Regions from separate parts of the Homo sapiens genome. Here region 1 is linked to region 2. The links are contacts of gene promoters, found by promoter capture Hi-C in blood cells and fetal thymus (Javierre and others, 2016). All regions are on one chromosome and are shown on one strand. Each heading gives the region's core, a stretch centred on a gene start or on the middle of the fragment in contact. The rest is flanking DNA. Distances are from core to core; before and after follow the strand shown. Region 1 holds the start of OR51V1 (olfactory receptor family 51 subfamily V member 1). Region 2 holds the start of OR52H1 (olfactory receptor family 52 subfamily H member 1).

Evidence for each region. The method cuts DNA at HindIII sites, captures the fragments that hold promoters and counts their contacts. A CHiCAGO score of 5 or more calls a contact.
Region 1: a contact is called between the fragment with the promoter of OR51V1 here and the fragment with the promoter of OR52H1 in region 2, in 1 of 17 cell types (megakaryocytes). The highest score is 5.5, in megakaryocytes.

Annotation. Positions count from the first base shown.
Region 1 is chr11:5,197,779-5,203,209 of GRCh38, reverse strand. OR51V1 (olfactory receptor family 51 subfamily V member 1) reads left to right here and starts at 2,528. Exons shown (of 1, transcript NM_001004760.3): 1 at 2,528-3,475. The coding sequence starts at 2,528. The coding sequence ends at 3,475. The HindIII fragment of the contact is 3,813 bases long and covers 1,653-5,431 here.
Region 2 is chr11:5,546,487-5,552,496 of GRCh38, reverse strand. It overlaps OR52H1 (olfactory receptor family 52 subfamily H member 1), which reads left to right and starts at 3,957. Exons shown (of 2, transcript NM_001005289.5): 1 at 3,957-4,045. It also overlaps the pseudogene OR52H2P. The HindIII fragment of the contact is 4,857 bases long and covers 2,598-6,010 here.

The DNA.
Region 1 (5,431 bases), core at 1,279-3,778, 350 kb after region 2:
GATAATCTAGGTGGGGAGCAGTATTAGAAAAATCCCCCTGAGGAAGTAATCATTTTAACTCAAAAGTTAATGGTGAAAGGAATTGCTGTGCAAATACTTGGGGTAGATAATTCGGAGCACAGAGAAGACCATGGGCAAAGATCCTGAGACATGCATGTACTTAGCTTGTTTTGAGGAAGATAAAGATACCTAAATATTAAGGAGTGTAGGCAGTAGTGGTCTAAAGATGTAATAGAAGAGGCAGGTGAGCCACGTTATACAAGGCTTTTTGACTATGATAAAGAATTTGTATTTTACATTACGAGCAATGGGTAAGTGACCATCAAAGAGTTTTTTCAACAAAGGTTTGTGTGATTTAGTAGATGTTTGTAGAAAAGCAATTTGGTTTCCCTGGAGATAATACATTTTTTAGAGGACAAACAGATAAATCATGATATTAGCTAGTAATAATATTAAATTATTATTAATTTAATAAATTATCATAGTAGCCAGGGAAACAATGATATTATAAACCAAGACGGGCAATGTGTAAAAGTGGGCCTATCTGGGATGTGTTTCTGGTAGAAATGGTAGAAATTGATGAAAGATTTGATGGAGAGAGGAAAGGGAAGGAAAGAGAGAAATAAAAAATTTTAAAAATGACTCAAGACTTGTCTTATGCAATTGTGTTATTGGTGGAGTCACTTTATAATATTAGGAGAAAAGGGACAGAAAATAGATTTTGGGGGGAAAATCAAGTACTTTATTGGCATCATTCTTATTTTAAGATTAAACACTCAGATGAATATATTAAATAGCCAGTTGTATTCATGAATTTGAGCTCTCAGGAGTGGTCAGGAATCAGAGGTGCAAATGTTAGTTTCAAATAATAAGAAAAAGTTGACATAGTCTGCACATTAAGGAACTGAGAATTTAGTTTGTAACAGAGATATTAGTTAAATATTTAGTTTAAATATTAGTTAAATATTTAGCTAATAAATACAAAATTATAAGTTTTATTTAAAATTGAAACATGATACCAAAATAATAGATATATGGATAAATTTGTCTTAAGAAACTTCTTGAAAAGTGATTGTTGAGTTGCAAGATCGTTTTAAAAAGGGTAGGAAGAAATTGAGGAAAAGATGATGAATAATTTAGGCAGATAGAACATTTCGAGAAAAATTTTACGAAAGAAGAGAAATTCGATTTAGAGAAATGAAAGAAGATACGTATTCAAAAGACTGAAAAATCCTCTGCAAGAAACGAAGAAACTTCAAGCATTCTATGGAGAAAAAAGTATTAAAAATAGTGAGCTAAGTTATTCAATGCTGAGAAGGAGTCAGGGCAAGAAAAACAATGGTTAGACTGCTAGAAGACGTCAGTGTAGTATAGAGAGTACATTGAGAAGAAAGTCTGTGGAACTGTGTTGTGAGGCTAATAAGACAAAGCTGAAAAGTAGGACATAAAGGGCAGCCCAAATCTGAAGTTACTTTAACATCTCGAAGTTACTCAATCAAACATGAAAGTATGGACTTTTGAACATCTGTTTACATTATTAGAGCTTTAAAAAAACTTATGATGATTCTCAGGTCTGGAACTTAAAGCAGGCAAACAATGTAAAGAAGAAGCCAATTGATTCTGCTACCATGAGGCTTTTGAAATTATAAGCTTGCTTGTTTGAGCCTGGCTTTGTGATCTGTAGAACTGCAGGTTCTAAGAAAGAAAACACAATTGGCCAATACATTGAATAAATGTATATTGAATAAATAGTTAATCAGCTCATTAACTGAATAAATAAAGGAATGGGAAGCACTGAGCTGCTATCAAAGGCTCAGTGTCTTCAATCTAATTCTCTACATCACAAAGGCACAAATGAGTTGAACATCTCAAGAGGCCAGAGCTCCAGTGAGAAATCATTTACCCAAGGTCTCATGCATAAATATTCCTGTCTGCTTATCACCAATGAAGAAAAAGTAATTGCTGGCTACGTCATCTGGAGGGGGAGAAAACAGGAGTATCTTCATTAAATAGTATTTGGAGAAAAAATATACTTGGAGACGGCACAAAATGGAAAATGACGGAAAAGTGACTATTTAATAGACTTATGATATTTAAAGCCCAAAGATTACTCTTCACTTCGAATGTTTAATGAATTGGAGAGAAGAAAATAATTTTTCAAGAACCTCGGCTCTTTACTGGTATAAAATTTTTACCACTATCCTTGGGAAAATGTCTAAGCAACGTATTTTTTTAAAACTAGCCTTCTCCTTTTACTAATCTCTTCCTTATTTGTTTTTGCTTATGGCTTCTAAGGATATGTTCACATCCAGACAGTGAAAAAATAATGACTTTTAAATGACATCAAAAGAAGACCATTTTCTCAAAGGCAATGGATACTATGTCTCAAAGAAACAGAATTTCTCAGCTGTTTTTTTTAAGTCAGTAAGTTTTAGGGTATTTCATTTACTTAGAAATTTCATTGTATTCAGGTGAAATTGAAACATTTCCTTTGAAAAAATACTCTCACATGTTTCTCAGTTCCAGAATGATTACTTCAGTAAGCCCTAGCACCAGCACGAATTCTTCCTTTCTTCTCACTGGATTTTCTGGCATGGAGCAGCAATACCCCTGGCTTTCCATCCCCTTCTCCTCAATCTATGCCATGGTGCTTTTGGGCAATTGCATGGTTCTCCATGTGATATGGACTGAGCCAAGCCTGCACCAGCCTATGTTTTACTTCCTGTCCATGCTGGCCCTCACTGACCTGTGCATGGGGCTGTCCACTGTGTACACAGTGCTGGGGATCCTGTGGGGGATCATTCGAGAGATCAGCTTGGATTCCTGCATTGCCCAGTCCTATTTCATCCATGGTCTGTCCTTCATGGAGTCCTCTGTCCTCCTCACTATGGCCTTTGACCGGTACATTGCAATTTGCAATCCACTACGTTATTCCTCCATCCTGACTAATTCCAGAATTATCAAAATTGGGCTCACTATAATAGGTAGGAGTTTTTTCTTTATTACACCCCCCATCATCTGTCTGAAATTTTTTAATTACTGTCATTTCCACATCCTTTCTCACTCTTTCTGCCTGCACCAGGATCTTCTCCGCTTAGCCTGTTCAGACATCCGATTCAATAGTTACTATGCCCTGATGCTGGTTATTTGCATACTGTTGTTGGATGCTATACTCATCCTTTTCTCCTACATCCTGATTCTTAAGTCAGTCCTGGCAGTTGCCTCTCAGGAAGAGAGGCATAAATTATTTCAGACCTGCATCTCCCACATCTGTGCTGTCCTTGTGTTCTACATCCCTATCATTAGCCTCACAATGGTGCACCGTTTTGGCAAGCACCTTTCCCCCGTGGCCCACGTTCTCATTGGCAACATCTACATCCTTTTCCCACCTTTAATGAATCCCATCATCTACAGTGTCAAGACCCAACAGATTCATACCAGAATGCTTAGACTCTTTTCTCTGAAAAGATATTGAGAGATATTGAGATGTATTGCCTAAAAAAAAGAAAGAAAAGCAGCAACAATAATAAACAAAAATCAGTGCCATAAAAAAGAAAAAATTATTAAAATTGTAGATTTACTCTGAGTCCATGACAAATGACCTTAAAAAATATTTAAATATAGTCAGAGAATCAACAAACAAGTTCCATTGTGTCAGCCTGGACACATGTAGGTCACTCTATCAGTCTGACCATATTTAAGAAAGAGGAAAAAATTGTTTATTTGCCTGAAATGTACTTTTGAGCATTTCCTTTGCTGTAAAACAAAGCTGGATTAAAAACCTAGGTTTTCAAGTTTCAAAGTAGAAAACTTGAAGTTTCTTTCATTCTCTGAGGTTTACTTAATTAACCTTCAAAATGGAGACTATAGCCAACTCACAGGAATGTTGTGATATCTGTATGGACCAGAATTGTCCAAGGGAACTTTTCTAAACTGATGGCGATGTTCTATAAAATACCATAAAATGGCTAAAGTGGAATATATGGCTCCTGTGCGCTTGAAATGATGGTAGTGTAATTGAACAACTGCATTTACAATTTCAGTTACTTTAAGTTAATTTATATTTAAATGTTTAATGTCCTTGTATTGGACAGTTCAGTTCAGCAGCCACTATATTGGACAGGGAAGCTACAGTTCATAAAGAGGACACAAAGAAATATGACTTTGGATTCAACTTCTACCATGTCTAATTTAAATTAGAATCCTTATTTTTTAGATTTTATATGTGGACTCCACTGCTACAAGGCTGGAAGCAGATTTTGCTCTAGATCTTTTGCTTTTATATCTAAGTGGGGGATCTTCTGAACAGATGAGACTGTCCGCTACCGACTTATTCTGAGTTTAAAAGAAAAAAGATAAAAGAACATAAAGCGGTTCTTTTCTAAGTAAGCTAGTGCAGCTTTCCAAAGAAGGAAAGAAAGGAAGGAAATCAGGTACAAAACTATGCATGGATAACAAGAAAATAATTGTTTTAATCTTCCTATATTCTATTAGGTATCTAAGAAGGTAAGTGTTAAAATTGGACAAATTAATGCATAAGAGTCATTTTACACCAAAAAGCAAATATTTATTTTTATTTTTAGATATCAACTAAAACAACCAGATTTGTCTTCCTGTAATTATGCCTTCCTTTCCTTTCACTTTGGACTTCATTCAATAACATAGCCTCTGTCTACTTATTTGACTCAGAGGGAAACAAAAATACAGGCTTTGGTTTCTAATAGCTTAAGCCTCAAAGTGAGGAAATTGTTTCTGGACAGAGTAAAGTATCTGGTTAGAAAGATAAGTGTAAAATTATTCCTAGAACAATAAATTAGGTCTTCTGGGTTACAGTATAAGGTTAATTTGAAGGATAAAGGAGTGAATTTCCTGATGTCAAAGAGGATCTAGTGCATCTTCTGGTATAGCTATCAGAAGTGAAAACTGTGAGGTAGGTTCTAGAGGGGAAAATGTCAATATATATATTTTTTACTATATAATCATAGTAGCTGCCGAGGCGGGCGGATCATGAGGTCAGGAGATCGAGACCATCCTGGCCAGCAATGGTGAAACCCCGTCTCTACTAAAAAAACACAAGAAAGTATCCAGGCGTGGTGGCGGGCACCTGTAGTCCCAGGTACTCGGGAGGCTGAGACAGGAGAATGGCGTGAACCCGGGAGGTGGAGCTTGCAGTGAGTCGAGATCACGCCACTGCACTCCAGCCTGGGCGACAGAGAGAGACTCTGTCTCAAAAAAAAAAAAAAAAAGAGAAAAAAAAAGAAAAGTTGATATGAATGTCAGGTGGTAGTACTGCTCCAGGTTCCCTAATGATAATAAATGTCTGCATGGTCCCTCCTGGCCGACTGGAATGTGGCCAATCTGACAAGATTCCTATGCCCCAGTTTTATAATGAAAAGAGAAGTTAGCTGCTGAATCTGTAGAGGTCATGTGA
Region 2 (6,010 bases), core at 2,708-5,207:
TCTATCTCATGGCTGTCGTGGCCAATAGTATCCTTCTCTACCTCATTGTGGTAGAGCACAGTCTTCATGCACCCATGTTCTTTTTCCTTTCCATGCTGGCCATTACTGATCTCATATTGTCCACCACATGTGTCCCCAAAACACTTAGCATCTTCTGGTTTGGTCCCCAAACAGTTTCCCTGGCTGTCTCACCCAATTATTCTTTCTGCACTATAGCTTTGTGTTGGACTCAGCTATACTGCTGGCCATGGCATTTGACCGCTATATGGCCATTTGCTCACCCTTGAGATACACTACTATTCTGACTCCCAAAACCATTGTCAAAATTGCTGTGGGAATATGTTTCCGAAGTTTCTGTGTTTTTGTCCCATGTGTTTTCCTTGTGAATCGTTTACCCTTCTGCAGGACACATATCATTTCTCACACATACTGTGAGCACATAGGTGTTGCCCAGCTTGCCTGTGCTGATATCTCCATCAATATCTGGTGTGGATTTTGTGTTCCCATCATGACGGTGATGACAGACGTGATCCTCATTGCTGTCTCCTACACCCTCATCCTCTGTGCTGTCTTTTGCCTCCCCTCCCAAGATGCCCGTCAGAAGGCCCTTTGCTCCTGTGGTTCCCATGTCTGTGTTATCCTCATATTCTATATACCAGCATTCTTCTCCATTCTTGCCCATTGCTTTGGGCATAATGTCCCTCATACCTTTCATATTATGTTTGCCAACCTTTATGTAATCATTCCACCTGCTCTCAACTCTATTGTCTACAGAATAAAGACCAAGCAAATCCAGAACAGAATCCTTTTGCTCTTTCCCAAGGGGTCCCAGTGATAGGTGCCTGAGCTCTTGGAGGTAGGGACAAGTTCCTAGTGTGTGTTAGGTCAAAGACTGAACCTGTGTTCAGACACCCAAGAGAAAGGACAGACTAAAATTTATTAACGAAAACTTGAGTTTTGCTTTCTTTGTGATTTGAGGCAGAAGTCTACTCAATCATTTCAGTTATAGCAAAGTAAGTTCTGAGTCTAGGAAATAATAAATATTTTTTGACTTCTAGAAACAAGAACTTTTGTAATTCCTTATGATTGCTCTAAAGTGATTATAAAACTTTTAATGAAGACAATGTAATGATTGGCAAATCTGAATGGTTTTTCAGATTTATTTATCATGGTAGTTTATTTATACATCATAGCAAGGCAGGAAAATTACCTCTTTGATGACTCTGCAGGGTTCTGGGTTTTTACTTTGTTCACTCCTATTAATTTCTAAACAACATCAAGTATAATACCTAGCACACACTAGGGACATAGGCAACATTTATCAAATAAATAAATGGCAAATAATCATAAAATTATTAATTTAAGAGTGCAGGTGTTTATATTAAGCAAAGGGATAAGGCAATGATAAAACTCAATGTTTAACTCAACCTTGAGAAAGCCAAATGAGTTGTGGGTGGGTGGAGTTTTCCACAAGGAATAAAAGGAGGAAGGCAAATTCCTATGGCTAGTAAAATGGTAAAGCACGTACAGACTAAGAAGTGGGTTTAAGACTTGACCAATTGGAAGCATTGGTGGTCTCAATTTTTTTCATGTTTGTATCTCCATAGAGATGTAGTCACAAGCCAAAAATGTACCTCTGTATGATTCATTGTCTCTTCAAATCCAGTATGCATAACTTGGTCATAGTGAGTCATTCAGTCACTTGGTCAGTAATACTTATTTTTAGGTGTCTGCCAGGCAGCAATGATAATCAATGTCTTATTTCCCTTTCAAATCTGATACGTCCTCAAAACCTGTGGTTTTTTTCTAAATAACCTCTTGGATTCCCCGGCTGAGTGCAGGCACCCTCCTCCCCTACCCCAGTAGTTCAAACCCTCACTGCTTTCACTTGACTCAAAATATCAGAGTTGTTCATGGTCTCTTTACCTTGAGACTACTTTCCCATCCCCGTGCTACTACCCTTTTCACATGTCATTGAATTTTTATTTCTACAATGGCTCTCAACATATAGTTTTAATAGAAAAGAATGTCCTTTGGACTCGGAGAATTGTGTTTGAATTTATAGTCTATCTCTTAACATGTGACAATAGCTACATGCATTGTTTCCAAAATTACTTGATGTATTTTGCATACCATAAATAAAAATATAGTCAGGTCCCACTTAACAATGAGGATAGAGTCTCATAAATGTGTTGTTAGATGATTTTATTATTGTGCAAATATCATAGAGTGTACTTACACAAACCTGTGTGATACAGCCTTGGCTCTCTATTATATTCTATAGCTCCTAGGCTACAAAACTGTACATCATGTTACTATACCGAATATTGTAGGGAAGTATAATATAATGGTATTTGTGCATCTAAACATGTCTAAACATAGACAAGGTACTCTAAAATATGGTATTGTAATCTTATGGGACAATTGTTCAGAAACATTGTTATGTGGCATATTACAAAGTATAAATAGAAAAGGCAAAAAGAAAAGTAGAAAGATTTTTAAAAATTAAGACAAAAAATAGGCCGAAAATACACTTTCCACCTGCTATGAATTTTTGTTCTCTTATTATATGTGGGTCAGAAATTGAGCTGTAAGCTTTCTAACAGTCTATGTGAGAGTTAAACATGATTAGCTACATAATTCATGATGGCTATAAGTTACAGACAGTTAATTGTTAGAGAAGCAAAACTACTTCTTATATGAAGAATGGAGAAATATCTTTAGAAAGCTCTTAAAGAATAGGCAGTAAGTGATGCAATTAATCACATTCTTACAGAATACACAAGTTCATGTGACTCTTCAGTCCCTTATCCTAGTATAGAGAGGTGAAGCAACCTCAATTTTTATTCAGCGAAAGGTAAAAATTCTGTTGGGAGCCAATACAATACTAATCTCATTAGTTCTGGTTTATTCCAGATATTCTAGAACATTCAGAGTACTGAGTGGACTCCTGGCAATCTTTATTAATTAACACATTCAACAATATTTAGCAAACGTTTGACAAACATTGACAAAAACTGACTTGGCTTTCAGAATTGTTGGGTAAAAGCCTCTTAGGTAAAAATTGATATCTGGACTTGCAGAAATTCCTGACAGTACCAGCTGGTAGACCTAACAGTTTCTCCATAAGAATATATTTTATTTGCTCATATTGTTTTTACCAATAAAAATGTTTAATGAAGTTTAATGTTTTAAAAATTATAAGTGGGAGATAAGCTATAGGTATGCAAGGGCACACATAGTAGTATAATGGACATTGGAGACCCAGAAGAGGAGAAGCTAGGAGAGGGGTGAGGGATGAAACATCACCTATTGAGTACAATCTACGCAATATGGGTGACAGGTACGCTAGAAACCCAGACTTCAACCTTATACAATTCACCCATGTAATCAAAAAACACTTGTACCCCTAAAGCCACTGGAATTTTTAAAAGATAATATTAGAATTATTTCATGTGGGCCATATAATTTTCATCTTAACAGGTGCCCTAGGTTATTCCTTTACACCATAAGTTTGCCGATATGTTAAGCATTTTCACTAGCAGTATCCTATTAATTTGTCAATCCTTATAAAATCTTGAGAGACAGGTACTAATATGACCACCTTTTAATGGAAATTAAGTAACTCATCCAAAGTCCTTTATCTGGTAAGTGAGGGCATGAACTTGAAACCTGGGTGATATGATAGGCACATACACACAGCTTTCCACCCACATACACATCAGCTTACAAATAAATAAATAAATAAAGCACTCTAAGGCAGTGTTAACTCAAAGGCATGAACAAGGTTAATAGAATCTTTTTCATCTTCTTCCCTTGAGGGTGAGAAGAGGGCATGTCAGAGTCTCTAATCCCCTAACTACCTACCTTTTCCCCACAAGGAGCAGTGAGTGATCAGAGAAAATAAATGGACAGGGAATCAACCTCTCTAACGTCCTTCCTTTTCCTTCCACTCATGTTTTTTTTTGGTTGGTGTGTCTGCTGTCTTGTAGATTTTGTCAACACACTCTTTCTTCTTTCCCTTTGGCCTGATCCCCAAGATTTGGTGAGTATTGGCTGTTTGAAGGGGTTTGATTGGGACAAGACTTAGAGAAAGTGAGTGAAAAGCCAGGGCTCTATTTCTTAGGGACCATGGGCTGGGCACTATAATTTTCTTTCCTGAGCAACTCCCATTTATAAACTGAGGTCCTGATCTCCAGTACTTGTGTATATGCTCCACTGAGTTAAGCATCAAAAGATCAGAACAGATGGACAATTACACAGCTGCGTTAAGTATGACCACAGTTAGCAGTGTTAGGAAATTTCTGTTTCAGACATGTGACAAGAGTCCATAACTCTAACTTAAAATGTAGAATTAAGTGTGCTGGTATGTGTGTATGCCCAGGGGTGCTCCTGTTAATTTTTATCCATCTTGCAATTTCTGTTCTCTTTTCCACTGCATGGTCTGGTTGTTAATGATAATACTAATGATATAAAATATAACCTAATATAAAGAAGTAAAACTTGTTACATGCTTACTATGTTTCAGGTACTATATTAAAGAATATTTTTCGGCTGGGCGTGGTGGCTCACGCCTATAATCCCAGCACTTTGGGAGGCTGAGGCAGGTGGATCACAAGGTCAGGAGTTCAAGACCAGCCTGGCCAACATAGTGAAACCCGTCTCTACTAAAAATACAAAGAAATTAGCCAGGCATAGTGGCGGGCACCTGTAATCCCAGCTACTCGGGAGTCTGAGACAGGAGAATCACTTGAACCATGGAGGTGGAGGTTGCAGTGAGCCAAGATTGTGCCACTGCACTCCATCCTGGGCAACAGTGCAAGACTCTGTCTCAAAAAAAAAATTCTTTTTTCAATGTGTATCATTTTGTCCTAATAATAATTATAAAAATTAGAAATATTAATTTCTTTTAAAAACATAGGAACCCAAATATCATGTAGTTTAAATAGCTTGCCCAGATTCACATAGCTAGTAAATTGTGGAACCAGGATTAAATTGTGAAACCTAGCTTTCTGAGGCTCCAGAGTACATGCTCTGTGCCAATATTTTGCTAACATACTGTGGATGCCTGAGAGTATGTATGTGTATCTACCATAATACCATAATTATTGCTGATAAAATTAACACTAGTTCCTTTATATCACTCAATACCTAGTCCATATTTAAGTTTCCCTAACTATTCATTAATTGAATTCAATACCTGGTTTGTTTAAACAGAATTCAATCAAGAACTACACTGCAGGCCGAGCGTGGTGGCTCACGCCTGTAATCCCAGCACTTTGGGAGGCTGAGGTGGGTGGATCACCTAAGGTCAGGAGTTCGAGACCAGCCTGGCCAACATGGTGAAAGCCCGTCTCTACTGAAAATACAAAAATTAGCTGGGGGTGGTGGCGGGCGCCTGTAATCCCAGCAACTCGGGAAGCTGAGGCAGGAGAATCGCTTGAACCGGGGAGGCGGAGGTTGCAGTGAGCCGAGATCGTGCCACAGCACTCCAGCCTGGGTGACAGAGTGAGACTCTGTCTCAATAAAATAAATAAATAAATAACCACACTGCATTTATTTGTTTTTCTCTTAAATGTACTTTAATCTGGAAATGGATTTTCCTTATCTAATATTCCCCTTCCCCCTTTAATGGCATTGACTTGAAAAAAGAAAACAGATTGTTGTAGATTTTTCCACATTGTGGATTTGTCTGATTGTTAAATGAGAGAGTTAACCGTCTGTGCACCCGTGTGTGTTTGTGAATGCTTTTGGATGACTTCATGAACATCTGTTGTATTTGAGTTCATGGAAATACAAAAACTTGAGAAAACCTTTCCTCACATATGTATGAATAAAGGATGACCTCAGACAAGTTGGGAGTGCTGTGAGTTGTTATAGAGGCATTACTGGGGAAGAAGGTATAGGACCAGTGGAGAGGTTTTAGGAATTTACAAAGCCTGTGACAGTGACAAAATCTAATTGTGAAACATTTTGTTTATATTGTCAGCACATGTGTCGGGGGAAGATG